Linked DNA regions of Homo sapiens: regions 1, 2, 4, 5 and 6 are each linked to region 3. The links are contacts of gene promoters, found by promoter capture Hi-C in blood cells and fetal thymus (Javierre and others, 2016). All regions are on one chromosome and are shown on one strand. Each heading gives the region's core, a stretch centred on a gene start or on the middle of the fragment in contact. The rest is flanking DNA. Distances are from core to core; before and after follow the strand shown.

What was found. Contacts are between HindIII fragments. The CHiCAGO score rates a contact against its expected background, and 5 or more counts as called.
Region 1: a contact is called between a fragment that was not itself captured here and the fragment with the promoter of RNF222 in region 3, in 5 of 17 cell types (M2 macrophages, endothelial precursors, M1 macrophages and 2 more). The highest score is 7.2, in M2 macrophages.
Region 2: a contact is called between a fragment that was not itself captured here and the fragment with the promoter of RNF222 in region 3, in 2 of 17 cell types (M1 macrophages and monocytes). The highest score is 6.0, in M1 macrophages.
Region 4: a fragment that was not itself captured here is called in contact with the fragment with the promoter of RNF222 in region 3 in 6 of 17 cell types (naive B cells, megakaryocytes, total CD8 T cells and 3 more); the score reaches 5.6 in naive B cells.
Region 5: a fragment that was not itself captured here is called in contact with the fragment with the promoter of RNF222 in region 3 in 16 of 17 cell types (M2 macrophages, naive CD4 T cells, M1 macrophages and 13 more); the score reaches 11.0 in M2 macrophages.
Region 6: a fragment that was not itself captured here is called in contact with the fragment with the promoter of RNF222 in region 3 in 2 of 17 cell types (M2 macrophages and M1 macrophages); the score reaches 5.7 in M2 macrophages.

What each region holds. Positions count from the first base shown.
Region 1 is chr17:8,708,330-8,712,668 of GRCh38, forward strand. All of the region lies in intron 2 of LOC105371525 (a long non-coding RNA gene), which reads left to right. Among named protein-coding and RNA genes, the nearest start is that of CCDC42, 34 kb to the right of the region's middle. The HindIII fragment of the contact is 4,505 bases long and covers 649-4,339 here.
Region 2 is chr17:8,841,231-8,845,557 of GRCh38, forward strand. The region is part of intron 2 of PIK3R6 (phosphoinositide-3-kinase regulatory subunit 6); the gene reads right to left. Among named protein-coding and RNA genes, the nearest start is that of PIK3R6, 24 kb to the right of the region's middle. The HindIII fragment of the contact is 1,724 bases long and covers 1,125-2,848 here.
Region 3 is chr17:8,395,337-8,399,853 of GRCh38, forward strand. It overlaps RNF222 (ring finger protein 222), which reads right to left and starts at 2,491. Exons shown (of 3, transcript NM_001146684.3): 1 at 2,359-2,491. The HindIII fragment of the contact is 4,699 bases long and covers 1-4,517 here.
Region 4 is chr17:8,877,099-8,881,132 of GRCh38, forward strand. It overlaps PIK3R5 (phosphoinositide-3-kinase regulatory subunit 5), which reads right to left. Exons shown (of 19, transcript NM_001142633.3): 18 at 3,807-3,919; 19 at 1,818-3,688. The coding sequence ends at 3,541. LOC124903919 (a long non-coding RNA gene) reads left to right here and starts at 284. Exons shown (of 3, transcript XR_007065610.1): 1 at 284-1,206. The HindIII fragment of the contact is 927 bases long and covers 1,733-2,659 here.
Region 5 is chr17:8,730,093-8,734,250 of GRCh38, forward strand. It overlaps CCDC42 (coiled-coil domain containing 42), which reads right to left. Exons shown (of 7, transcript NM_144681.3): 7 at 1-115. The coding sequence ends at 38. Among named protein-coding and RNA genes, the nearest start is that of CCDC42, 13 kb to the right of the region's middle. The HindIII fragment of the contact is 8,994 bases long and covers 1-4,158 here.
Region 6 is chr17:8,669,489-8,673,697 of GRCh38, forward strand. LOC105371525 (a long non-coding RNA gene) reads left to right here and starts at 1,094. Exons shown (of 4, transcript XR_001752781.1): 1 at 1,094-1,440. RefSeq lists an enhancer at 2,515-4,209. The HindIII fragment of the contact is 2,717 bases long and covers 1,044-3,760 here.

The sequences.
Region 1 (4,339 bases), core at 1,651-4,150, 310 kb after region 3:
CTGTGACAGCTCATACCAATCTGTGTTTCTAAGACAACCAGCGAACCAAATAGGAACAACATTAATGGTGATAAGAGGTGGCTGTTGCAGGCTGGGCCAACCCAGACAAGTTGAGCTCAAAGATCAGAAGTTTTGAGGCCAATTCTAAATTTAGAGTCCAATTTTTGAGGAAGCCAAAATGAGCTCTCCTTGCATGAAGTGTGTCAGAAGAATAGAAGACACCATCCCCAAAGAGCAGCTAGTAGAGGGGGCTGGGGTCCTCCTTCCAGCTAGAGATGCTAATAATGAGATCGAACAGCTCCTTCTTCTTCTTTAAAAAATTCTTAGGGCCAGGCACGGTGGCTCATGCCTGTAATCCCAGCACTTTGGGAGGCTGAGGCGGGCGGATCACGAGGTCAGGAGATGGAGACCATCCTGGCTAACATGGTGAAACCCCATCTCTACTAAAAATACAAAAAATTAGCCAGGCGTGGTGGCGGGCGCCTGTAGTCCCAGCTACTCGGGAGGCTGAGGCAAGAGAATGGCGTGAACCTGGGAGGCGGAGCTTGCAGTGAGCCGAGATCGCGCCACTGCACTCCAGCCTGGGGGACACAGTGAGACTCTGTCTCAAAAAACAAAACAAAAAAACTTAAGTCTTTTCAAACTAAAAGCTTTGAAAGAACTGAATATCACATCTCTTCTCTCTTCCCTGCTGCCTTTAAAATGTGTTCTTATTTAGAAAGAACCCCAAAGCAACTCAGGGTGTATGTGGAAGGAGCAAAATTTAAACCCCTAGCTTCCCCTCCACACCCAGCCTCAATCTAACCCTGCATGGACTAGGCCTCACTCCCTTCTAAGTGGGCACTTCAGAGCAGGAAGGCTGCAGGTTATCTACCAGAGCAGACACTTCCTGTTAGCTCAAGCCAAATACTCTCCTCCTTGGCCAACTCGTGGGATTGGCAGCAACACTATGCTGATGCCAGTGTGCCCCAGAGATTAGCCACTTTTGTCCCCAAGTTTTATGGTACTCTACTATGAACACTCTCATTGTGCTTGAATGGACTAGGGGCTCAAAGGCTCTATTCCCATGTGGGCTCTAGCCTCCACTTATTTTTACCAACTGAGCTCTTACCATCTGCCTTTGCCATTTGCTCTAAGAGGTCTTGGAAGGTAAACCTCTCAGAGTAACAATTTCTTCATCTATAAAATACCATGTGTGGGCCGGGCACGATGGCTCACACCTGTAATCCCAGCACTTTGAGAGGCTAAGGTGGGCGGATCATGAGGTCAGGAGATCAAGACCATCCTGGCTAACACGGTGAAACCCCATCTCTGCTAAAAATACAAAAAAAAAAAAAAAAAAAAAAAAAAAATCAGCTGGGCGTGGTGGCGGGCGCCTGTAGTCCCAGCTACTTGGGAGGCTGAGGCAGGAGAATGGTGTGAACACGGGAGGCGGAGCTTGCAGTGAGTAGAGATCGTGCCACTGTACTCCAGGCTGGGTGATAGAGCTAGGCTCTGTCTCAAAACAAACAAAAAAAAACCACGTGTGTCAAATTCACCCATGTGATGTTTCCCGCATTTATATCCAGCCCCTATTTCCACAAATGCTACCTAGGTCAGGTCTTCATTGTGCCTATGGAGGTCTCCTCATTTATTGGGCTGCCTCCATTCGTCCACAATACATAGGGCTAATCTTCCTAAAGCATGATTTTGATCAAGTCACTCTCCTGCTCGAAGCCTTTTCATAGCTTCCCATTGCCTGCAGAGCCAATTCCAAATCACTTAGCCTGGTTTCAAAGTCATCCACCATCTGGCCTCAGCCTATCCTTTTTGTTCATTCTTGTCCACCTACTTCTTCCAGCTGTTACATAAACTGTCGCCTAAAGCTGCCTTCTTACATATTTTAAGTGCGGCCTAAAGGTTTCTCCATACATAGTGAATTGTAACCTAACTGGATGTGTAAATAAGTCTGTAATCTACTCTTCTACCAGTCACAGAATTCCAACCAATCACAGGCGGCCCACTGTTCAAGCCATAAAGATGGCAGACACTGAGCTGTAACCAACCCTGCTGTTTCTATACCTCACTTTCCTTTTCTGTTTGTCACTTTCCTTCTTCTGTCCATAAATGTTATCCAACCATATGGCAGTCTCGGGAATCGCTCTGAACCCATTCTGGTTCGGGGGCTGCCCAATTCTCAAACGTTTTTTCTTCAGTTAAACTCTGTTAAATTCAATTTGTCTAAAGTTTTTCTTCTCACACAGCAAACTGAACAATCACACTCCAGGTTTTCACGTCAATGGGCCCTCATTCACATGCATCCTTTAATCTGAAATGTCCTTCTCCACATTTCTGCACATCTAACTTTTACCCTACTGATCCCCATAGCCTAATTATTAGCTGTATGATCTTGAGCAAATTATTTAAACTCCATATCTGAAGAAGATCGTTTCCAAAGATTGCCACAGCAATCGTTTCCATCCTGTGTGCCCTTTGCAAGGTGAGTTTGCCACTTCTCCATGTCAGTTTCCTTTCCGTTTGAATCTTTGCTGGCTCTGTGACATTCATGAACCCATCAAATGTGGTGGACATGATGCTATGTCATTTGCAGCTTCTGTTTTTGTACTCTGGGAAGCTGGCCACCATATACAGAAGTTCTAGCTATCCTGCTAGAGAGAGAGGTCACAGAAAGGACAACTGACATGCCCCAGCTGACAGCTAGCCCCACAGCCCGAGTCAACTGAGTAAGGCCATTTTGATCCTCCAGCTCCAACCAGGGCTAACACCGCAGCGTAGAGATGAACTGTTTCCACTAAGCCCTTGCTTGAGTTTCTGAACCCCCAAATTGCGAACAAATAAAATTGCTGTTTTAAGCCACTCAGTTTTGGGGTAGATTGTTATGTAGCAATGGATAATTGAAACAGACTCCTCGCCTACAAAATGGGGATAATAATGGTCTCCAGCCTCACAGAAGGACTGCGAGGATTAAGTGAGTCAATCTATGAAAAGCTCTTAGAATAGTGTCTGCACATGGCAAGATCGCAATAAACACTAACTCCTCACGACCTCAAATTAACTTAATGTTTTCTTGTTTCTTGTTCATCCCTAAGTCCCTCTCGCAGCAGTGCCTGGCATACAATAGGTACTCGGCAAACACAATTGGATATCAAACGTCCCCTTCCTTAAGCCTTCTCTGATGACATTCCATCAGCTTGCCACCACCCCTCCCTCTCCTGATTCCCACTGCACTTTATCAACTCTTCCCACAATGTAGGCTACCTTCAGCCTGGAACCCTGGCTGGTATGTCTCCTTGGTAGATGGTGAGCTTCTTGAAGACAATGACATTATTCATAATATATAAACAATAATGAATGAATTAATTAAAAATGGGAACAAGGCCAGGCACGGTGGCTTATGCCTGTAATCCCAGCACTTTGGAAGGCCGAGCTCAGCGGATCATGAGGTCAAGAGATCGAGACCATCCTGGCCAACATGGTGAAACTCTGTCTTTACTAAAAATATAAAAATTAGCCAGGCATGGTGGCGCACACCTGTAATCCCAGCTACTCGGGAGGCTGAGGCAGGAGAATCTCTTGAACCTGGGAGGCGGAGGTTGCAGTGAGCTGAGATCGTGTCACTGCACTCTAGCCTGGAGACAGAGCCAGACTCCGTCAAAAAACAAAAAACAATGTCACCTCCCATACCAGCATAACCAGGTTGGTTGTTTGTTTTTTGAGACGGAGTCTGGCTCTGTCACCCAGGTGATCTTGGCTCACTACAACCTCTGCCTCCTGGGTTCAAGTGATTCTCCTGCCTCAGCCTCCTGAGTAGCTGGGATCACAGGTGTGCGCCACCATGCCTGGCTAATTTTTGTATTTTTAGTAGAGACGGGGTTTCACTATGTTGACCAGGCTGGTCTCGAACTCTTGACTTCAGGTGATCCGCCTGCCTTGGCCTCCCAAAGTACTGGGATTACAGGTGTGTGCCACTGTGCGCGACCGCAGGTTTGTAATTCAAAAGAGGTGATGAATGACTCAGGCGCTCCGACATGCCTTCCAGAGCATATCTAATTTTAGATGGTGGCTTCTCTGTCTTCCTGGTCCCATCTGTGTGACTTTTATACTTTAAGGCAGGAGAGAATCCAAACAGGACTCCTGCAGAAAGTCTATTTACTGTCCTAAGAGTTGGTTGACCTTGAACTCTGGAAGTACAGGGTGTCACAAACCTAGGAAGGAACTAATGACTCCCAAGTCTGTTCCTATGGCTGACAAATGTCTGAAGTTCCTCCAGTAGATGAAAAACAGCTCATTCCTAAGCCATGATTTCTTCAGAAATCATTTTATTATCTCTAAGACTTGT
Region 2 (4,327 bases), core at 737-3,236, 450 kb after region 3:
GACAGGTGGTAACAAAGACTCTCTCCTTGACCAAACCTTACTCAGCCTCCTCTTAGCCCTCTTCTTCACTAGGGCTCAGCCCTGGCTCCTGTCCTGCCTTTGGCCTGCCCATCCCAGTTTTAGCAAGAATCCTGCCAAATCAGTTTAGGTTGGAGTCCTCCACTCTTGATATCTCCTGAACCCCTTCATCCCTTACCGTCGATGTATAAGAATTTGACTTGTGCCTCTAGCAAAAATCCTGTTAGCTCAGTTTAGCAAGAATGTCCCGACCCTTGATGTCTCCTCTTAGGAATTTTCCATCCGCTGACCCCTTCACTCTGCTCATTGGCTATAAATCCCCAACTGGCTTTTCTTTATTCCAAGTTGAGACTGCTTTCTCTTTCCTAATGCAATAGTCTTGGATAAGTCTTCCTTACCATTTAATAAGTTCCAGAATAATTTCTTTCTTTAACAGTGGTACGTTGACATGGGAAAAAAAAAAAACCATGAAAGTGGTACAAGAATAAGCAACTGACATTTGGGAAGTGTGGTAGCTGTGAGAATGTACCTCGCTCCTCTCCCACTACCGGGAGTTTAATGGAACCAGGTCCCCAGTTGCTGTGCTGTTGCAGTGGTTTGGATATTTGACCCTCCAAATCTCATATTGAAATTTGTTCCCCAGTGTTGGACGTGGGGCCTAATGGGAGGTGTTAGGGTCATGGTGGTGGATGCTTCATGAATGCCATCCTTGCGGTAATGAGTGAGTTCTCATTCTATTTGTTCCCCTGAGAACTGGTTGTTAAAAAGAGCCCGGCACCTTCCCCCTCTCTCTTGCTTCATCTCTCAGCATGTGATCTGTACACACTGGCTCCCCTTCCACCAGGAGTGGAAGTTTCCTGAGCCCTGAGCCCCTTATCAGAAGCAGATGCTGGCACCCTGCTTCTTGTACAGCCTGCAGAACGCTGAGCCAAATAAACCTCTTTTCTTTATAAATTACCCAGCTGCAGGTATTCCTTTATATTATAGCAATGCAAACAGACTAAGACAGCTGTGAAATCCATCACTTTCTGCTGAGCCACGCCTCCCAGCCAAAATACACGGTATGGTAGTGGTTCTAAAGCAGGACCTTCCCCAGGAGACGCTCAAGCTTCTCCAACTGCCCTGCTGAGCTTTTCTTGGACTCCCATCAGTCCAAGGCATTTCCACTGACCCTTCTTCCTTTTCTCCTTCATTTGGAGTCAGATTTGCACCAGGGTCTGACAGCTGCTCTCCCAGGTCCCTCTCCATTTCTGTCACACAAGTGTTTCCCCAAATAAATCCTTGAACTTGGTGTCTGCTTCTTGGCAGATCCAGACTCAGACAAGAAGTACGGGAAACACTCCTCACACAATAAATTCCTCTTTGCAATTAGCTCCCACCAAGAGTTTGCCATTATAGGTGAGTGTGTATTCTCCAGTTGTCAGACAACACAAACCACATGCCCCAAGGGTTCCTCTTTGACTGGGCTATCAGGAAACTTACGGTCAAATTGGGGCCCAGCCTCAAAAATTAGCTCATCTCATGTGACAGGGATCTCTCTTCTTGGCTCCTTTTTGGTCCTCCTGCTTTATATTCTATTTAATCTATATCTGAATTGCTTCAGATTCCTTTGGAAGTAAGTAGAATAGAGATAACAAATTTAAAAATCAGCAGATTGCAGTCCAAGAGTTAAAATATTTTTAGGCCAAGTCACCATAGGTGCTAGTGCTCATGGTCTGGCCCCTCCTCAGACCCATGCAAAGCCTACGGGGTCCACATCCCTGAAGCCCCCACTTGGCAAGGCCTGGTCCTGAATCTCCTCCAGGCTGAGAGTGGACAGGATACTACAGCCACATCTGCCCACCTGGTCCCTCTGCTGGGCAGAGCATCATCTCCCCAGACTGTTGAGGAAATCATTTAGCTCAGCATGAAGGTTGGTCACAGTCTTTCCTCCGTCTATGCATTTCCACCTTGCATGAAGATTTAATGAGTTAATGCAGGATGAGTTATTAGAAAATTAGCTGGTGCTAAGTCTTTTTTCTCTCTCCTCCCTCCTTCTCTCTCTCCCTCCCTTCCTTCCTTTCTTTTTTCCTTCCTTCTTCCTCTTTCTTATTCTGTCTTCCATTGTATATTTGCAAAGAAAGGCTGAAAACTGTGACAAATGTGATTTCCTCTCATTCCCCTCATCAGAAGCACAGCCAAGCCTTTGTCTTCTGAGCTTGGGTCCCCTTGCTTTGCAAGGGAAGTTGAATTTTTATGTTTCACAGAAAAATAGAGAAGTTGCCAGTAGCCCTGGGAGACCACTTCAAATAAATTTTGTTTTTGAATGTCTGGGTAGCTAAAACAAACTCTCAGGCTTTGGTCCACATCTGGCTTGCTATGTGTTTTGTTTGGGCTTGTATAGTGTCTTAAAAAAAAAAAGCAATGAATTAGCTGCCAACATTTACAAGTCAGGAGATTTTGCATAACGTTTGGGTTTCTGGCATCTCTCGAAAATCTGACAATCTGCTGACACCGAACCTGGATTCTTCTCACATGTGACAATCATAGGGGGTGGGGAGCAATTGCCCCCTTAGATAGGCACAGCTTCTCTAGGTCTTTGTAGTTCCCCATGCCTCGGTTTCACTCATTTATATCCTCTGCCTGGCCCCTGGAGGCACTGAGTCTGAGGCTCCTGGCAAGTTGATTGAGCCAATCAAGCTGGATTGTCTAAAAAGGTGCAGAAGAAGGTTGATGCTTTTAAAGAGGAGAGTGGCCCAGCCCAAGGGTGGAGGTTGGATTCCCTAAGACTGTGAACGCACAAGGGATATAGGGTTCCAGGGAATGAGGAAAATCAGACCGGCTGGGACAAAGCTTACCAGTGGCGGCAAAGGTCAGATGAAGGCCGCTAAGCACTGAGCCCTGTGCCTCTGATGCCACAGCAAAGGTCTCCTGAGCCATCTTCACCAGAGCACGAGAATGTCCCTCAAGGCAGGCTCTATCTCCCTCTGCACCTTGCAAGTCTGGCCAAGCAGTTCTGGTGGCTGTAGCCACCGTGGACTGGAGACGACAGACTTTTCCCACTACCCAGACTTTATAAACCCTGAGCTTCTCACAAACTCCCACGTAGGGGGAAGCACTCCAAGTGAATGATGCTAGAGTTCATCCTAACCTTGGAATATGAGAGGTTGAAGCTGGTTTTGATTTGATTAAATGGAAGAAAGAAATGGGATATTTCCTGTGACTCAAGTGGCTCAGCATTGTTCACATATGGTATGCAGGTCTAACATCCTTGATGACTCGAATAGTCAATAGATAAATGGCATCCATTATTATTATCCTCCTCTGCATCCAGGAATGTGGGATATTACTAATTAGGTATTAATATTATTATTAATATTAAACTTTTTTTATTTAAAATTTTTTTAACTTTTATTTTAGGTTCAGGAGGTACATGTGCAGGTTTGTTACCCGGATATATTGCTTGATGCTGAGGTTTGTAGTATGGATGATCACATCACCTAGGTACTATGAGTACTGTTACTAATAATAGTACTACTCATATGAGTAGTACTAGTACCCACACTAACTAGTTTTTCAACTCTTGCCCCTTTCCCTCCCTCCCCATTCTAGTAGCCCCCAGTTTCTATTGTTGCCATCTTTGTGTCCATGAGTACCCAAAGTTTAGCTCCCACCTATAAGTGAGAACATGCAGTATTTGGCTTTCTGTTCCTACATTAATTTGCTTAGTGTAATAGCTTCCAGCTCCATCCATATTGCAACGAAGGATATGATTTCGTTCTTTTTTATGGCTGCATAGTATTCCATGTTGTATATGTAACACATTTTCTTTATCCAGTCTGTTGTTGACAGGCACCTAAGTAGATGCCACATTTTTGCTTTTGTGAATAGTGCTGCAATGAACGTGCAAGTGCATGGGTCTTTTTGATAGAATGATTTGTTTTTGGGGGGATATATACCCAGTAGTGGGATTGCTGGGTCGAATGGTAGCTCTGTTTTAAGTTCTTTGTGAAATCTCCAAACTGCTTTCCACAGTGGCTGAACTAGTTTACATTCTCACCAACAGTGTATAAGCATTCCCTTTACTCCACAGCCTTGCCAGCATCTGTTGTTTTTTGACTTTTTACTAGTAGCCATTCTGACTGGTGTGAGATGGTTTTGATTTGCATGTCTCTGATAATTAGTAACGTAGAGCATTTTTCCATATTTGTTGGCTGCTTGTATGTCTTCTTTTGAGAAGTGTCTGTTCATGTCTTTTACCCATTTTTTAAGTGGGGTTATTTGTTTTTTGCTTAATCAGTTGTGTAAATTCCTTATATATTCTGGATAT
Region 3 (4,517 bases), core at 1,241-3,740:
TTGTTTAACCTCTCTGAGTCTCAGTTTCCTGTCCATAAGATGAAATTGATAATAATGGTATCATCTTCCTCGGAGAGTTGTTGGGGGAATTAAGTGAGCTAATGTGAGTGAAGAGTCTGGCTCAGAGTAAGTGCTCAGTAAATGGCAGTTGTCATTATTAAGACAGACCATGTCCTGTCCCCTCTTCTCCCAAAGGGGACTTGGAGACCCCTGTCACAGCTCTTGAGGCAGCCACAGCATTTGCCTTCCTTTCCTTCCCTCTCATCCCCAAATGTTCCTTAGTATGTGGATGATTAAAAAATCGCACCCACTTGACAGAGGGCAGCTCACCTCAAATTAGAATAACGGAACAAGATGACAATGGATAAGATAAGTGATGGGCAATGGATAATAATTTAAATGGTTATTCCAATCTTTCTTGGTAGTTATTTCATAACACATTTGCAAATGTTTATACCAAACAGCCATTATAATCAGGATGGGCATGATTTTCTTAAGCCAATCAACTATTAATATGTTTCCCTGCATTTCATAACTCCCCAGAGTGTATGATGGCAAGAGTTCCATCCTTCTATCCATCCATCCATCTGTCTAATTATTCGACACATATTTATTGAGCACCTGCTATGTGCTAGGTACTGACTTACATATTGGGGATAAGTAGTGGCCAAGGAAGTTCTTATAAAACTTTAGAGCCTAGTGGACATTTATAAGTTTTCTTGAAAAAGATATTTTTTTGAAAGGAGTATTGATGATCAATGGTTTAAGTTGTTTGGATAACTGAGAAGTAGAGACCAAGGCTGACAAGAAGAGCAAATAAGGAATACTAGAGGGAAAAAGGACTTTAGAGATCACTTAGTTGAAGCTCCTAGTTTCAGAGATGAGCAGATCCATGTCTAGAGAGAGGGAAGTGAGTCACCTGAGGTGACCGGTGAAGGTGACGGAGAGGGAGTTAACCGAGACAGAGAAGATTCCGTAGATGGTAGAACATTGTTAGAATCAGCTGATAGATTGGGTGAGTAGGTATTAGCCAAGTTAGAAAGCACCGTCCTCCTTGAGACGAGCAGGGAAGGAGAAGGAGAGCCTCTACTTTTCATCCGAGTTAGAGGAAAAGTAAAAAGGACCCAGGGAGTGCAGAAGACATCCGAGGCCCCAATGATGGCCTCTCTGGGCAATCCTTCTCCCTTCCAACAATGGCCTCTCTGGGCAATCCTTCCCTCTTACAACGATGGCCTCTCCGGACAATCCTTCCCCCTTCCAATGATGGCCTCTCTGGACAGTCCTTCCCGCTTCCAACGATGGCCTCTCTGGGCAATCCTTCCCCCGTCCCGTGCTTCCGGAGAGCCACGCCGTCAACACCTGGACGATGCTACCTCCTTCCCCACCTTCTTGCCTCCCTTTCTCAGTCTTTCCCTGACCCCTCCCTCTGCCTCTCTCGCTTTCTGAATCCCATTCCATTCCCCATCCTTGAGTTCCTCTTATGGTATGATTCTGTTTGGATGCTGGGGTGAGGGAGAGGGCAACAGAAGAAATGCAAGGAACATACTCTAGTTTGAGCACAAACGAGTTGAAGAAGAATGCAGTAAGTGCCAAAGCATCCCTGTTGGTGCCTTAGGAAACTGAGGGGAGAGGAGGGCTGGAAAGTATTCCTAGGTGAAGTGGGACCAGTATTGAGCTAATAATAAATAATTATTATTATTTACAACAGCGACCATTTATTGAATCCTAATTATATGCTTGGCATTTTGCATCCCTTCCTCTTCTGATCCTGACAACAAGGCTGGGGCGTAGGGATTATCTTCATTTTACAGATAAGGGACCTGAGGCTCAGAGCTTAAGACTTTGTCTTCAGACTTTGGTCAAAGGAATAGAAGAAATAGCACTGTTAGAAAAGTGACTACCCAAAGTTCCTTCCTCTTTAGGTTTAGAGTGACCCTAAACAAGGATGCCCCTCTGGCCACCTGGGAGGCAGGGGGAAGGCAATGGCTGGCCCAAGGGAGCTGACCTTGGGAAGCCCCAGTACTGAGCCTCCCCCACAGCAGTAGCCCATCTCCGGAACAGAGTGTGGGGGCAGGTGTCCCCACCCCAGAGAAAACACCCCCCATCCCCACCTCAGCACAGGAGCCAGTGGGACAGAATGATACTTCCAGGCACCTGGGATTCCCTCCTGGAGCCCCAGTGCAAGGTCCTATAGCTTTAGCTGTGACTAGTTGCTCACCCACAGGTATCTCTTTCTCTCTCTCTCTCAATTTCTCTCTCTCTCATTCTCCTGCATCCTTCCAATGTTGGCAACCTTCCAACATTGCCAAGCTCCTTCCCCACGCCCATCCAGGCCCCTAGACTCACTTTAGCTGGGACCGGAGAGAGCAGCATCCACCTTCCCTCCTGGGGCCTCCAGCAGATCTGAGCCACCCCGAGGTGCTGAGCAGCAGCACGATCTCCTCCTGTTGCTGTTAGTGTGACCGCCACCGCCGAGGCAATTCCTAATGACAGAGCAGGTCGGGAGGACAGCGCGAGGAAGTGAATGTCGCCCAACCCGTTTGAGGCCAGGAGGCTTTGGCGTTGCCCAGGGGGTTGGCAGCTGCTGGAGTCAGGTGATCTTGCTGAGGATGCCAGGAGAGGAACCCCCAGCTTGAGGAGGAGCCCAGGGGTGGGTGCTCAGGAGAGTCAGAGGGTCTCACAGTGGAGGCAGTGACCCAGGACCCCTTTGACTGAGGCTCCCCAGGCATGGGTCTCCCTATCAATAGGAAAGTCACCCACACTGTCCTTCCCACCCTCCTGGACCCATTTCTGTGATCCCCATCTTCCCCCCACACCCCTATCCTCACACCATGCACAGGGTGAAGGGGTCAGTAGTAGATCAGCCTCGGGAAGTCTATGACACTCAGAGTCATATATTTGTGGGATCTGCCTGTGTGCATTTGTCATTCATGGAACACCCAAAGGCGCTTAGAACTCCAAAGACCCAGCACCACTGGCATAAAGAACGAGGCGAGTAAGACCAGTGAAGCAGGAATGCACACAGATATGGAAAGAAGTCCCCGGCATCATGATAAATGGAAGCAACTTTCAGAACAGCCTGTGTAATACAATTCTATTTATGAAGATAATAATACATGATCATATTCATAGAGGAAAAGCTGGAAGAAAACACATCAGACTGTTAATAGCAGTTATCTCTGGAGAGACTTTCTAAGTTTTATATTTCTGTGATGTTTGCATTTTCACCCTGAATGTATGTTTCTTTTGTGATTAGAGAAAAAGTCATCCACTGGGTATGGTGGCTCATGCCTGTAATCTCAGCACTTTGGGAGGTTGAGGCGGGCAGACTGCTTGAGGCCAGGAGTTCGAGACCAGCCTTGCCAACATGGTGAAACCCTGTTGCTACTAAAAATACAAAAATTAGCTGGGCAAGGTGGTGCAAGCCTGTAGTCTCAGCTACTCGGGAGGCTGAGGCACAAGAATTGCTTGAATCCAGAAGGTGGAGGTTGCAGTGAGTGAGCCAAGATTGCACCACTGCACTCCAGCCTGGATGACAGAGTGAGACTGTCTCAAAGAAAAAGAAAAAGTCATCAAGAATAATGGAGGAATGAAGTTCGGGGAACTGGAAATCATTTTGGAGGATTCCCTCCCAGTCCTCTCAGGAGGTCCCCAAGAAACCAGTTTTCTTCTGAAAAAGTAAGTTACTGGGTCCAAGGCACAGCCCAGCATGTGTGTGACCCCATAGGATGACACAGGATGACCCCTCTTCTGTCCGATCAGTCATGGCCCTGGCTTAATGGACACCTTGAAGCTGGTGGGGAGGACAGTCAGGCCAGTGCACTCGGCCACTTCACCATGGACAGAGATCCGTGAGTGCAAGCCGTCGTCACAGTCTCTCTTGTTCTTTCCCTGGGAGTTCCAGGTGGTCCTAGATTAGCAAATGAAAATGCAGTATGCCCAGGTAAATTAGAATTTCAGACAAACAACGAATGCTTTTTGGTATAAATATGTCCAGTACAATACAGTACAATATCTGGGATTTTTTTTTTTCTGAGACAGAGTCTCGATCTGTCACCCAGGCTGGAGTGCAGTGGCCACAAGCTCGGCTCACTGCAACCTCCACTTCCTGGGTTCAAGCGATTCTCCTGCCTCAGCCTCTCAAGTAGCTGGGGTTATAGGTGTGCACCACCACACCCCAGTAATTTTTTTGTATTTTTAGTAGAGATGGGGTTTCGCCATGTTGGCAAGGCTGGTTTTGAACTCCTGACTTTAGGTGATCTGCCCACCTTGGCCTCCCAAAGTGCTGGGATTACAGGCGTGAGCCACTGTGGCGGCCCTCTGGGACATATTTATACTAAAGAGTATTCCTTTTCTATCTGAGACTCAAATTTAAGTGGGCATTCTGTATTTTCATCCAGCAAGTCTAATCCCAGAGGGCTCTCCAAATTTCTCTCCTTCCACTGGCATCTCCAAGGGGCGCATTGCAAAGTTCTAAGCCCCTTCAACAATGTGGCTCATGACTCTGCCTAGGGCTT
Region 4 (4,034 bases), core at 946-3,445, 480 kb after region 3:
AAGTTTTTTGTTTTGTTTTGTTTTGTTTTTGAGATGGAGTCTCGCTCTGTCACCCAGGCTGGAGTGCAGTGGTGCGATCTCGGCTCACTGCAAGCTCCGCCTCCCGGGTTCAGGCCATTCTCCTGCCTCAGCCTCCTGAGTAGCTGGGACTACAGGTGCCCGCCACCGCACCCGGCTAATTTTTTGTATTTTTAGTAGAAACGGGGTTTCACCGTGTTACCCAGGATGGTCTCGATCTCCTGAACTCGTAATCTGCCTGCCTCGGCCTCCCAAAGTGCTGGGATTACAGGTGTGAGCCACTGCGCCCGACCGCTGCAGTTTATAAGTTTTTTTTAAAAAAGTATTATCAGACAATTCTGGGTGTGTGATTCCAGGTTAGTAGGTTTGTTTTTTCCCCTCATACTTTAAAGATATCATTTCATCATCTCTGGCTTCCATTGTTTCTATTGAAAGAGAGAGTTCTCAGTTTAATTGTTGCTACTTTGAAGATAAAGTGTATTATTTTCCTCTGTCTTTAGTATTTTCTTATTACCTTTTTTTCTTTAGAAGTTTGACAGTAAGGGGTGTGTGTGTGTGTGTGTATGTGTGTGTGTGTGTTTAAGAAAAAACTGAACTCCAGATTGTATTGGGATTTTACCAGTTTTTGGATTAATGTTTCAGGATACAAGCCAGTGTCTACTGCTTATTTTTCAGGTTTACTCCATCTCTTTTTGTTTCTCAGTCTTTCCTTATTTTTTGTGACAGTAAGAGAGTACTGGTCAGGTTATCTGGTCCCATAGTCTGGGTTTATATGATCTTTTTTACTCTTGATTAGACTGGAGTTATGGAAAGAACATCAAAGGTAAAGTGCACTTCTCATGTGATTTTGTTTTTTTCTTGTGTGGAGATTCCTGTGTCAAAATTCCTGTGCAAAATTTGCTGGGTTTATTAAGTCTGTGGGTTGATGTGCTTCATCAGTGTTAGCCAATTATTGGCAGAAGGAATATTGTTCTTGTTCCAGGTTCCATTCCTAGGAGGCATCGCGTGTCTCTGCTTGCCTCTCATGCTGGTCCAATGTGTCTGAAAGACCAACGAAGCAGATCTGCACCCATCCTGCAGCTTGGAGCCAAGCCACTCTGAGCCCAGCCTAGATCAGGTGGTCCCTAGATGTCCTCCAGATGCATGAGCAAGAACAAATGATCGGAGACTTAGTTCCCTGAATTGAAGGTATGCTTCATTGTTTGCAATAGCCAGCTGATGCAGAGCTGGAACAGCTCACAGTTCTTTCTCCCTCCATCCTGAATAGTGTTCTGGCAACCTGGTACTTACCTCCCTCTCCCAAGCCACAGGTGTCCTCTACCATCCCTCCACTTCTTCTTCTCTCTTTCCTTATCACCCAAGTCTAAAGGCAGTCCCAGATCCAAAGGGCCATTATTGAGCTCTCTTCCCCTCCTCTCAGCTGCATGGTAGGTCCAGGATCCACTGTGCCACCCATCCGCAGCAACGGCCTCAGGCCCGTCCCCTCCCTGGAGCTTGGGGTACAGGAAACAGATGGATATATGGGTATATATTTCTCAAGTGAAGTAGCACAGGAAACCCCAAATGCTGAGTCCTTAGGTGTAGGAATTTTTGTTCTGTGGGTCAGTGAGTATGATGAGGCTTAAGCAGAACAGTATTGGGGAAAATTTTCACCCAAATATATTTTCTATAGGGTGGAAAATTACAAAAAGAGAAATAAAACAATCCCCTATGAAGCTTCTTTCTGGTATAAATAAAATGATTTATATAAACTGTCCAACTAGCAGGGTCATGCAGCAAAGTAACTACTGGTCATTAAATATAGGACAAATCAAGTTTTATTTGACAATAATATTAAATTCCACTCATTAGTTCCTGGACATCTGTTGATCACATAATAAGACAACCTGCCCATACAGCAAAAACATATTGAAGATACATGGCCCGCCACTCTTCTGGAGCTTAGAGCAAGAGCAGACATTAAGACAGGGGAGAGACGGCCAGGCAAGGTAGAAGCTGGCTCTGTCCACGTCTCTCAAGTCATGAGTACTCTGGGCTGGAATTTCACGTAAGGCCTTTTGGGCATAATGAATTAGGAGGCGGGGAAGAGGGACTTTGTGCAGGATACAGTTCATGCTTCCGTGGCTACTTTCTCCACATCAGTCCAGATCCTCGTCTTGACTTCTGCCCTATCTCTCTAGCCCATGTTTGCTTCCAGCTTCTCAAACCACTTCAAGCTGGTTGCTTTGAATTTCAGACTCTCGTGTCCTATCCTAGGCTGACCATTTCCCATGCACCAGTCCCATTTCCCCTGAGTCGGGCACTAAGCTCTGTGAGGCCAGTCACTCCATCCTCTGTTCTGGGATCTTGCCCAGGTGCCAGAAGAGTGCCAGTGAACTTGCGGATATGGAAGATTGTACACGCAGAGTGAGATGGGAGTGGGAGGGCCAATCTGATACAGAAGGGGGTGAAGGGTAGGGCCCCTGAGCAGCCCACCCCTTACCCTGACGAAGGCAATCCTCCTCTGGAATGTCTCTTCCCTCTTCAGTCTGGGTTCTGCCTCAGCCACGAACTGGGAAGGAGTGAGGAACATCCCAACGGCAATGAGAGTATCCCAGTGACTCCAAACAGGAGGAATCAGTGTTCAGAAAGTCAGGCACTAAGCTTTACTGAACACCTACTGGGAGCTCGGCACTGGGCTAGGTGCTTTGCAGACAATTTAACCTTTTAAGGATGTCTTATTTCCACCCCAACTCTCCACTCCATTTTAGTGCTGGAGAAATGAAGGCTTAAAGTTAATTAACTTCCTCTAGTGATTTAGCTAGAACTGAGCTGCTACTAAATTTAACCCTATCCTGTCTTCTAAGAATCTCAGATTCCAAAAGGAGATCAAGAGAGAATCTGTGCCGGGTTCTGAGAGTAGACAGGTCCAGCGTTAGTGCTGTTTTTCTGGAGACTCAGGAAACTTGAGAGAAATTATTGAGGTGTGTGCGTGTGTGTGTGCGCATGTGCGTACATGCATGCCATGTGTGTGTGGTGTTTGCAGGGAGAGGTGGTCTTGAAGTAGAGAAATGTTTCATCCACATTTCAATCACCTGAGCCCCACAGAGGAGGGGACTGAACTCCAGACATACAGGGTCCTCAAGTCTTTGGCAAAGTAAGGGGTAGGCTCAGCCAAGGTTGAGAGAAAAGGCCCAAGCCATCCCCCTGAGCACCAGAGCCTCAGATCTTCCTTCTAGAAAGGATCCTAGACCATGCTAATGGTCAGGGACTTCAGAGGTCAATTTACCCATCCTTCTCCTTCTACTGCCAGGAATCTAAGAGGCTATGGGGTCTGGCCCTTCTCTCTCTGATAGCTGTTGCTTTCCCAGAACCCTGAGGCCCCAGAAACCCTCTACTCCCAGCCCCTGCTCATTGCAGGACCCACAGTGGGACTATGGCTCTGCACAGGGCCATTCAGTTCTCCACAGAGAGGGACTGTCCTGGAGGGGTGGCCGAGGAGGTTGCCCCAGGGCTTCTGTCCAGTCTGGCGCTGGGCCCACACTAGGGCAGAGCTCCACTGAAAGTCATGATGGGCAGGCAGAGAAGGGAGCAGAGATCAGGTGCGGCCTGGGCCGGCAGGTCAGGAGGCGTCTGGGGTGGTGAGGAGAGGTCGCTCTTCTCTGGCTTGTAGCACGGTGAGACCTCACATCTGTGCAGCAGGGCAGGGGCCAGGGATCAGAGCAGGCCCCCATCCTTCCAGCTCCTTCCAGGCCTCTGGGTTGGTGGGAGCAGAAACTGCTCCCCTCCCTAGGACCCCCCTTTCCTACCTGACTACACTCTGCAGGATCTTTCTCTCATCCTGGTCCAGGCACACAGCAAAGGGGCAGCTGTTGGAGCCGATGATCTGCACCTTGTCCACTTTGATCTGCGATGTGCTAATCTGGAAGGAAGGCCCAGGTCAGCCCCAAATCCCTGGCCATCCAACACTGCCAGCCCCTGGCAGTTCCTTTTCTCAGAACTGCCCATCCACTTCTAGGGGTGTGGGAGGGCAGGGG
Region 5 (4,158 bases), core at 326-2,825, 330 kb after region 3:
TCTCTGTCTCAGGACATTCTGGAACAAGGCTGCCTCCTTAAATCCGGACTCGCTGTTGTTCCTTCTTTTTCACCTCTGCCCAGATGTCCGACCGGTCTTGGATAAATTGCTGGATCTAGAAAGGCAAGGAGCCCAGCGTTAACTCCGCCCCCCAGAGGCCTCCCCTGTCCCAAGATGGAGCATCCCAGACATTCACTTGTAAAGAATTCATCATTGCTTTCCTGTGACTGACTTCTTTTTAAATTTTTATTTATTTATTTTTTTGATACAAGAGTCTTGCTCTGTCACCCAGGGTGGAGTGCAGTGGCACGATCTAGGCTCACTGCAACCTCCGCTTCCTGGGTTTAAGCAATTCTCGTGTCTCAGCCTCCTGAGTGGCTGGGATTACAGGTACTTGTGACCATGCCCAGCTAATTTTTGTGTTTTTAGTAGAGATGGGGTTTCACCATGTTGGCCAGGCTGGTCTTGAACTACTGACCTCAAGTGATCCACCCGCCTCAGCCTCCCAAAAGGCTGGGATTACAGGCATGAGACACTGCACCCAACCATGACTGACTTCTTGAGGAGGCCACTTTCTCTCATTTGACAATGTTTTGAGGTGAAATTGAGTGTTGGGTGTAGCCGATGAGAAGCAACAAAACAGGGATGGAGTTGGGAACTCCTGAAGGCAGACCCTGGTGATGTATGAAGTCCAGGCTGAGAGTCAAGCAGGAGGGATAAGAAAGAAAGGGTCACAAGCAGGCTGGTGGATGAAAAGGATTTAGCAGGCAGGGTTCCGTCAGCATGGGCAGACCGCCTTCCACAACTTCACCGCCCTCAAGGTGGTCGTGCATTCGAAACCCAGAGCTGATGCTCATCATGATAACCTTGAGTCATGAAAAGGAATGTAAATTCTGTTCACCGCCTTCTGTTTTGTAAAGAGCACGCAGTCAGCATGACACGGAAGTCATGCTCCAGAAGTCAGATGACCTAGCTGGGCCCCCGTCGCAGGTCTGGGGCAATCACTCCATCTTTCTGGAACTCAGTTCTTCATCTTTAATAAGGAGAGAGGGAGAAAAGATTGGCCCAGACAGCCTCTAAGATATCAGTTCTAATGCAAACCAAAACCACAGTGAGATACCATCTCACACCAGAATGGCTACTATTAAAAAGTCAAAAAGTTACAGATGCTGCTGAGGTTGTGGAGAAAAGGGAACGTTCATACACCGTTGGTGGAAGTGCAAATTAGTTCAACCATTGTGGAAGGCAGTATGGTGATTCCTCAAAGAATTAAAATAGAACTACCATTCAACCCAGCAGTCCTATTACTTGTTATATACCCAAAGGAATATAAATCGTTCTATCATAAACACACATGCATGGGGATGTTTACTGAAGCACTATCCACAATAGCAAAGAGAATCAACCTAAATGCCCATCAATGGTAGACTGGATAAAGAAAATGTGGTACTTATACACCACGGAATACTATGTAGCCATAAAAAAGAATGAGATCACGTCCTTTGCAGGCACATGGATGGAGGTGGAGGTCACTATCCTTAGCAAACTAACGCAGGAACAGAAAACCAAATACTGAGTGTTCTCACTTATTAGTGGGAGCTAAATGATGAGAACACGTGGACACAAAGAGGGGAACAACACATACTGGGATCTGCTTGAGGGTGGAGAGTGGGAGGAGGGAGAGGATCAGAAAAAATGACTATTGGATACTCGGCTTAATACCTGAGTGATGAAATAACCTGTACAACGAACCCTTGTGACATGAGTTTACCTATATAACAAACCTGCTTGGCTGGACGCGGTAGCTCACGCCTGTAATCCCAGCACTTTGGGAGGCCAAGGCGGGTGGATCACGAGGTCAGGAGATCGAGACCATCCTGACTAACACAGTGAAACCCCATCTCTACTAAAAATACAAAAAATTAAGGCCGGGCGCGGTGGCTCAAGCCTGTAATCCCAGCACTTTGGGAGGCCGAGGCGGGCGGATCACGAGGTCAGGAGATCGAGACCACCCTGGCTAACACGGTGAAACCCCGTCTCTACTAAAAATACAAAAATTAGCCAGGCGTAGTGGCGGGCGCCTGTAGTCCCAGCTACTCGGGAGGCTGAGGCAGGAGAATGGCGTGAACCTGGGAGGCGGAGCTTGCAGTGAGCCGAGATCACACCACTGCACTCCAGCCTGGGCGACAGAGTGAGACTCCGTCTCAAAAAAAAAAAAAAAAAAAAAAAAACCTGCTCGTGTACTCCTGAACCTAAAATTAAAAAAATAAAAAAAGGATTTCAGTTCTAAAACTTCTCCTTTTCAAGGCTGTCTCTGGAGATGGAACTACACAGACTTTGTCCAAAGCTCTCAACAACTGTCAGCTGCTGATACTGTTACCATTACCAATATCATTCCCATTTTGCAAATGAGAAAACAGAGAGTCAATGAATTAAAGCAGCTTTCCCAAGATGACAGAGAAGACAGGTCAGCGTTTCCTGAGCTATGTTCTCATAATAAGTGGTCACATGCCCCAAAGGAGTCCTGTGGTCAAGTCAGTTTTAGAAACGCTGTCTGCTGGGAGCATCTCAGGGCATAGAACTATAGCAAAGACTCCAAGTCCTGTTTGTTTTTTTAATCTCATCTTCGTTTAATTTAGAGTTTCTAAATGTATTAGTCTATGGAGTCCTTTTATTCCCCCTAGGAAACAATAGCTCAGGAGATTCAGTCTGGAAAGTGCTTGTTCAGATAGTTTGGCTTTTCTTCAGGGATAATGCCAAACCTTCCATGACACACTCGAAGGAATTCAAATTGACTTGGCCTTCTGCAGAATCGCTTTTCCTAAGCTGTCCTGTGTACCACGTTCCTTGTTCTCTATAAGCAGCTGCCTTACAAAGCCAGTGCCTGCATTGGTTGCAGGGATGCTGTTGAGAACATTATTCATACAGTGTCAATGAAGCCTCATCGAGAAATTTCAGTGAGAACTAAGTGCTGGGAAAAGGCACATTGTCTCGGAGGAAACCTTATTTTTTCTTATTCTAGTATAAGAGCTACAGGTGGCTTTTCATTCAGGTTACCAGCAAGCTCAGAAACAATTACTGCCCCTGTCTAAGACCCTTAAGAACCAAGGGCAGTCTGTATTTCTCTCCATCCTTGACCTCTGATTTCAACTTGTACTTTCCCAGGTCCTTAAGTTTAAATCTGTAGGCGACTCGGTCGTGTATTTCCGTGAGTAGGTTCATCTCCTACGGGAATGAAGTGAGATATTTTCTAATAACTTTTGGGCAATCTGAAGTTCTCCTGTAGAGGTGAATCCAAGTTGAGAGGGATTCAGAAACTCAAAATTTGGAGTGGATGGACTAGAAGCCATGGTCTCAGCAGGAGATGTGCCTGTGGGAGTGAGCTGCTGGAGGGCAGCATCTCCCAGTGAATCTTGAGATGAAGTCTTGCTCTTGTTGCCCAGGCTGGAGTGCAATGGCACGATCTTGGCTCACTACAACCTCCGCCTCCCAGGTTCAAACGATTCTCCCGCCTCAGCCTCCCGAGTAGCTGGGATTACAGGTGCCTGCCACCATGCCCGGCTAATTTTTGCATTTTTAGTAGAGATGGGGTTTCACCATGTTGGCCAGGCTGGTCTCAAACTCCTGACCTCATGATCCACCCGCCTCAGCCTCCAAAAGTGCTGGGATTACAGGTGTGAGCCACTGTGCTGGGCCCTCCCACTGCATCTTTCTTTACAACAGCTAAGGGCAAGGGCCTGAGGACCTCCGGGAGGCTGAGGGGAGGGGGCCCGAGGATTTCTGGAGTCTCTGAGACCCTATTGTGGGTCATAGGGGTTTTTGAGGCCAAAACTCTTTTTACGATAATATTAAAATGTTATTTGCCTTTTTTTCGCTCTTATTCTCTCATGAGCACACAGTGGCATTTCCCAGAGAGGAGTTTCCATGACATATGCTGTCACAACAGAATGAACGCAGGAGTGGACATGAGCACCGGCCTGTCCTCTGTTAAACTAGACATTAAAGGGATCTGCAAGTGCGTCAAACAATGCCACTCTTCTCACAAAACAGTTTTGAAACTTTTTTCCATAAAAAATGCTATTTCTGTTAACATACTTTTTATCATTATTTAAAAATGAATGAATTAAACAAATGTTTTAAAATTTTCTGTTTTAATTT
Region 6 (4,209 bases), core at 1,152-3,651, 270 kb after region 3:
ATATCAGTTTTTCCTGCACAGAATCATCAAACTTTCGTAAAATCCAGGGCTTCAGTCTTAGCCAAGATCTCACCAGCTCCCCCACTGCCATACATACCACTGGGGATTCATCCAATGAATAGACTGGAAATCTTTGTATGAATGCCTTGCTAGATTTTTTGGTTCAAAACACAGTGATGCTTCCATTGGACAGCTCTGGTGGCGCTGAATGCAATGAGCTTTCCGGATAACTGAAGCTTATCTCTACAAAACCCAACACTTTATTTTATCCATTTTGATTGGAATCTGTCAAAACTGTCACAGCACAGATCTATGCCTGCTCTTTTTTTGAGTTTTTCTGTCTCCTTTGTCTTCAGGCTACCATATGGGTTGACACTGTGCTAACTGTGTCTACTTCTAGCAGCCCCTCCCTATTTTTTATTCGCAGTGGAGAAGGATGTGTTAAAAAAAAAAAGAGTAAACAGAATCACAGGGCCTTAAGACTTTCTTGCAAGTAAAGTTCTTGTGTTTTTTTTTTTTTTTGTTTGTTTGTTTTTTTTTTGAGACAGAGTCTCTCTCTGTCCCCTGGCTGGAGTGCAGTAGCGCAGTCTCAGCTCACTGCAACCTCTGCTGCCCAGGTTCAAGCAATTATTCTGCCTCAGCCTCCCAAGTAGCTGGGATTACAGGCGTGCGCCACCGCGCCTGGCTAATTTTTGTAGTTTTTTTAGTAGAGACGGGGTTTCACCATCTTGGCCAGGCTGGTCTTGAACTCCTGACATCATGATCCACCCGCCTCGGCCTCCCAAAGTGCTGGGATTACAGGCATGAGCCACCGCACCTGGCCGCTCTTGTCTTTAGAGCAGGACATTGTGAAGGTTATTCGAGGGGCTTAAAAGGTTTTGTTTTGGTTCATGGCCTAATTTTAGCTTTCCGTCTTTCTGAAAAGTTAAGATTTCTTCCCTTCTGAATAAGTGGGATGTTATTATAATGAAATGCACAAGTTCCTTTAGAACATGCTATGGCAAGCTATCCAAGTTAGAGCTGTTGCTGAGGGAACCAGGCAAAGCTTGCTTAATGTATAAACCTGGTTATTATATTTAAAATTCAAGCAGCAGCCAGAGATTCCTATCGGGAGAGGGAAGACTTTACTTTTGAAGAGGAAAAGTACTTAACTCCTAGAGGAAAGCGTCATTCCTGAGGTTTACCCTCATGGTCTGGAGACAAACACGTGGGACTTTTCTTTTTTGTGTGTGTTTCTAATAGTGGAAGAAAAGGAAAGCCAGGCTAAGCAGAGAAAAGTGGAAGAGGAGACACAGCAGCTCATTCTTTCCCAGTAGCCGTTAGACTGATTGCGGAGGGGAAGGTCAAAAGAGAAGTTCACAACTATGATACCAGCTCTAGAGGCGAAAGAACAACTGAGAGAGAACTATCCAAGAAGTGTTTGGATCCCGAAGCACAAAGGTGAGGAAAGAGCAAAATATGGCTTTCCCTCATAAAAGAAAATACAGCTGACCTCTGAACAACAAAGTGGCGGGCGTGGGGCGGGGGCGGGGGGGGGGCGGTTTACTCGCGCCGACAACCACGCAGCTGAAAATCCACGTACAATTTTTTTTTTACTCCCCCAAACTTTACTAATAGCCTTCTGCTGACTGGAAGCCATGCTGATCACATAAACAATTAACACATATTTTGTGTGTTATATGTATTATATGTTGTATTCTTACAATAAAGTAACCTGACTGGGCACGGTGGCTCACGCCTGTAATCCCACCACTTTGGGAGGCCGAGGCAGGTGGATCACGAGGTCAGGAGTTTGAGATCAGCCTGGCCAACATGGTGAAACCCTGTCTCTACTAAAAATACAAAATATTAGCCGGGCGTGATGATATGCACCTGTAGTACCAGCTACTCGGGAGGCTGAGGCAGAAGAATTGCTTTAACCTGGGAGGCAGAGGTTGCAGTGAGCCAAGATCGCACCACTGCACTCCAGCCTGGGTGACAGAGTGAGACTCCGTCTCGGGGAAAAATTAAAAAAAACCATATATATATATATATATATATATATATATATATATATATATATATATATATTAGTAAGCCAAAGGCCGGGTGCGGTGGCTCATGCCTATAATCCCAGCACTTTGGGAGGCCAAGGTGGGTGGATCACTTGAGGTAAGGAGTTCAAGACCAGCCTGGCCAACGTGGTGAAAACCCATCTAAAAATACAAAAATTAGCCGGGTGTGGTGGTGTGTGCCTGTAATCTCAGCTACTTGGGGGCTGAGGCAGGAAAATCGCTTGAACCCAGGAGAAGGAGGTTGCAGTGAGCTAAGATAGTGCCACTGCACTCCAGCCTGGGCAACAGACCCTCTCTCAAAAAAACAAAAACCAAAAAGCCCCCAAAAAACCCAATAAAGTAAGCCACAGAAAATAAAATGTTATTAAGAAAATCGTAAGGGGCCAGGCACAGTGGCATACGCCTGTAGTCCCAGCTACTCCGGAGGCTAAGGCAGAAGAATCGCTTCAATCCAGGAGGCGGAGGTTGTGGTGAACCAAGATCACACCACGGCACTCCAGCCTGGGCAAAGGAGCTATACTCTATCTCAAAAAAGAAAAAGAAAAAAAGAAAAAAAAGAGAAAAAAATCATAAGGAAGATAAAATATATTTGCTACTCCTTAAGTGGAAGTAGATCATCATAAGGTTCTTCATCCTCATCACCTTCACATTGAGTAGGCTGAGGAGGAAGAGGAAGAGGAGGGGTTGGTCTTGCTATCTCAGAGGTGGAAGAAAATCCACGTATATGGTGGACCTGCACAGTTCAAATCCGTGTTGTTCAAGAGTCAACTGTAGGTTAAACAATTAAAACGTCGAGGTCAAAGGATGAAGACATTAAGTTATCCTCGTCTCAAGCTAATGTCTCCTTCCCAGACTTCTCCCTCCCGCCGCCCTCACCCTCACCCACCACCCTGATGCCTGTGGGAGGGGAACCACAATAGGCCAAAGAATCCTAGATTTCAAAAGATCACCCAGTTTGTCATGGTTATTTAACCGTTGCAGAAACCAAGGCCCGCAGAGCTCAGGGAGGAATTCGAGTCCTCACTCCTAATCCAGCATGCTTTCCCACTGTATCATCCAGGGCAGGGACATCCCTGGAAAATTCAGCAATGTTCTCACTTAATAGTACTCCGCCCCCAGACTTATACAGAGCAATCTTTATTTATTTATTTATTTATTTTTTTGAGAAGGAGTCTTGCTCTGTTGCCCAGGCTGGAGTGCAGTGGTGCAATCTCGGCTCACTGCAAGCTCCACCTCCTGGGTTCACGCCATTCTCCTGCCTCAGCCTCCTCAGTAGCTGGGACTACAGGTGCCTGCCACCGCGCCTGGCTAATTTTTTGTATTTTTAGTAGAGACGGGATTTCACCGTGGTCTCGATCTCCTGACCTCATGATCCGCCCACCTCGGCCTCCCAAAGTGCTGGGATTACAGACTTGAGCCACTGCGCCCGGCCGAGAGCAATCTTTCCAAAGTTTGCTCCACAAAACACTAGCCCAGGAGATGCTCTATCATCCAGCAATTTCACTTCTGAATCGAAGTGGGGACTGGAACAGATATGTATGCTCCCCTGTTCACAACATCATGATTCACAATAGCCAAGAGGAAGAAACAACCCTAATCTCCATCAATGGATAAGTGGATAGATAAAATGTAGCATATACATATGGTCCTACAATTATTCAGCCTTAATAGGAAGGATATTCTGACACTTGGTGCAACACAGATGAAGCTTGAGAACATTATGCTAAGTGAAATAAGTCCAACATAAAAGCACAAATATTACACAATTCTGCTTATATGAGGTAGCTGGAGTAGTCAAATGCATAAAGACAGAAAGTAGAATGGTGCTTGCTAGGAGCCAGGAGATCAGGGAATGGGGAGTTACTGTTTAATGGATACAGAGTTTCAGTTTGGAAAGATGAAAAAGCTGTGCAGATGGATGATAGTGATGATTGCACATTGTTACAGCGTGAAGATACTTAATGCCCCCGGAATGGTAAACTTTGTGTTACATATTATTTTACCAGAATTTTTAAAAGGAGGACAAAATGAGAAGTGTTTCACTAATTAATGGTATCACCAAACAAGCAAGTCTGGGGAGGTCTGATTACATTTTCCTACACACACACACACACACACACACACACACACACTTGCCCTGGCAAGTCACAGTGCA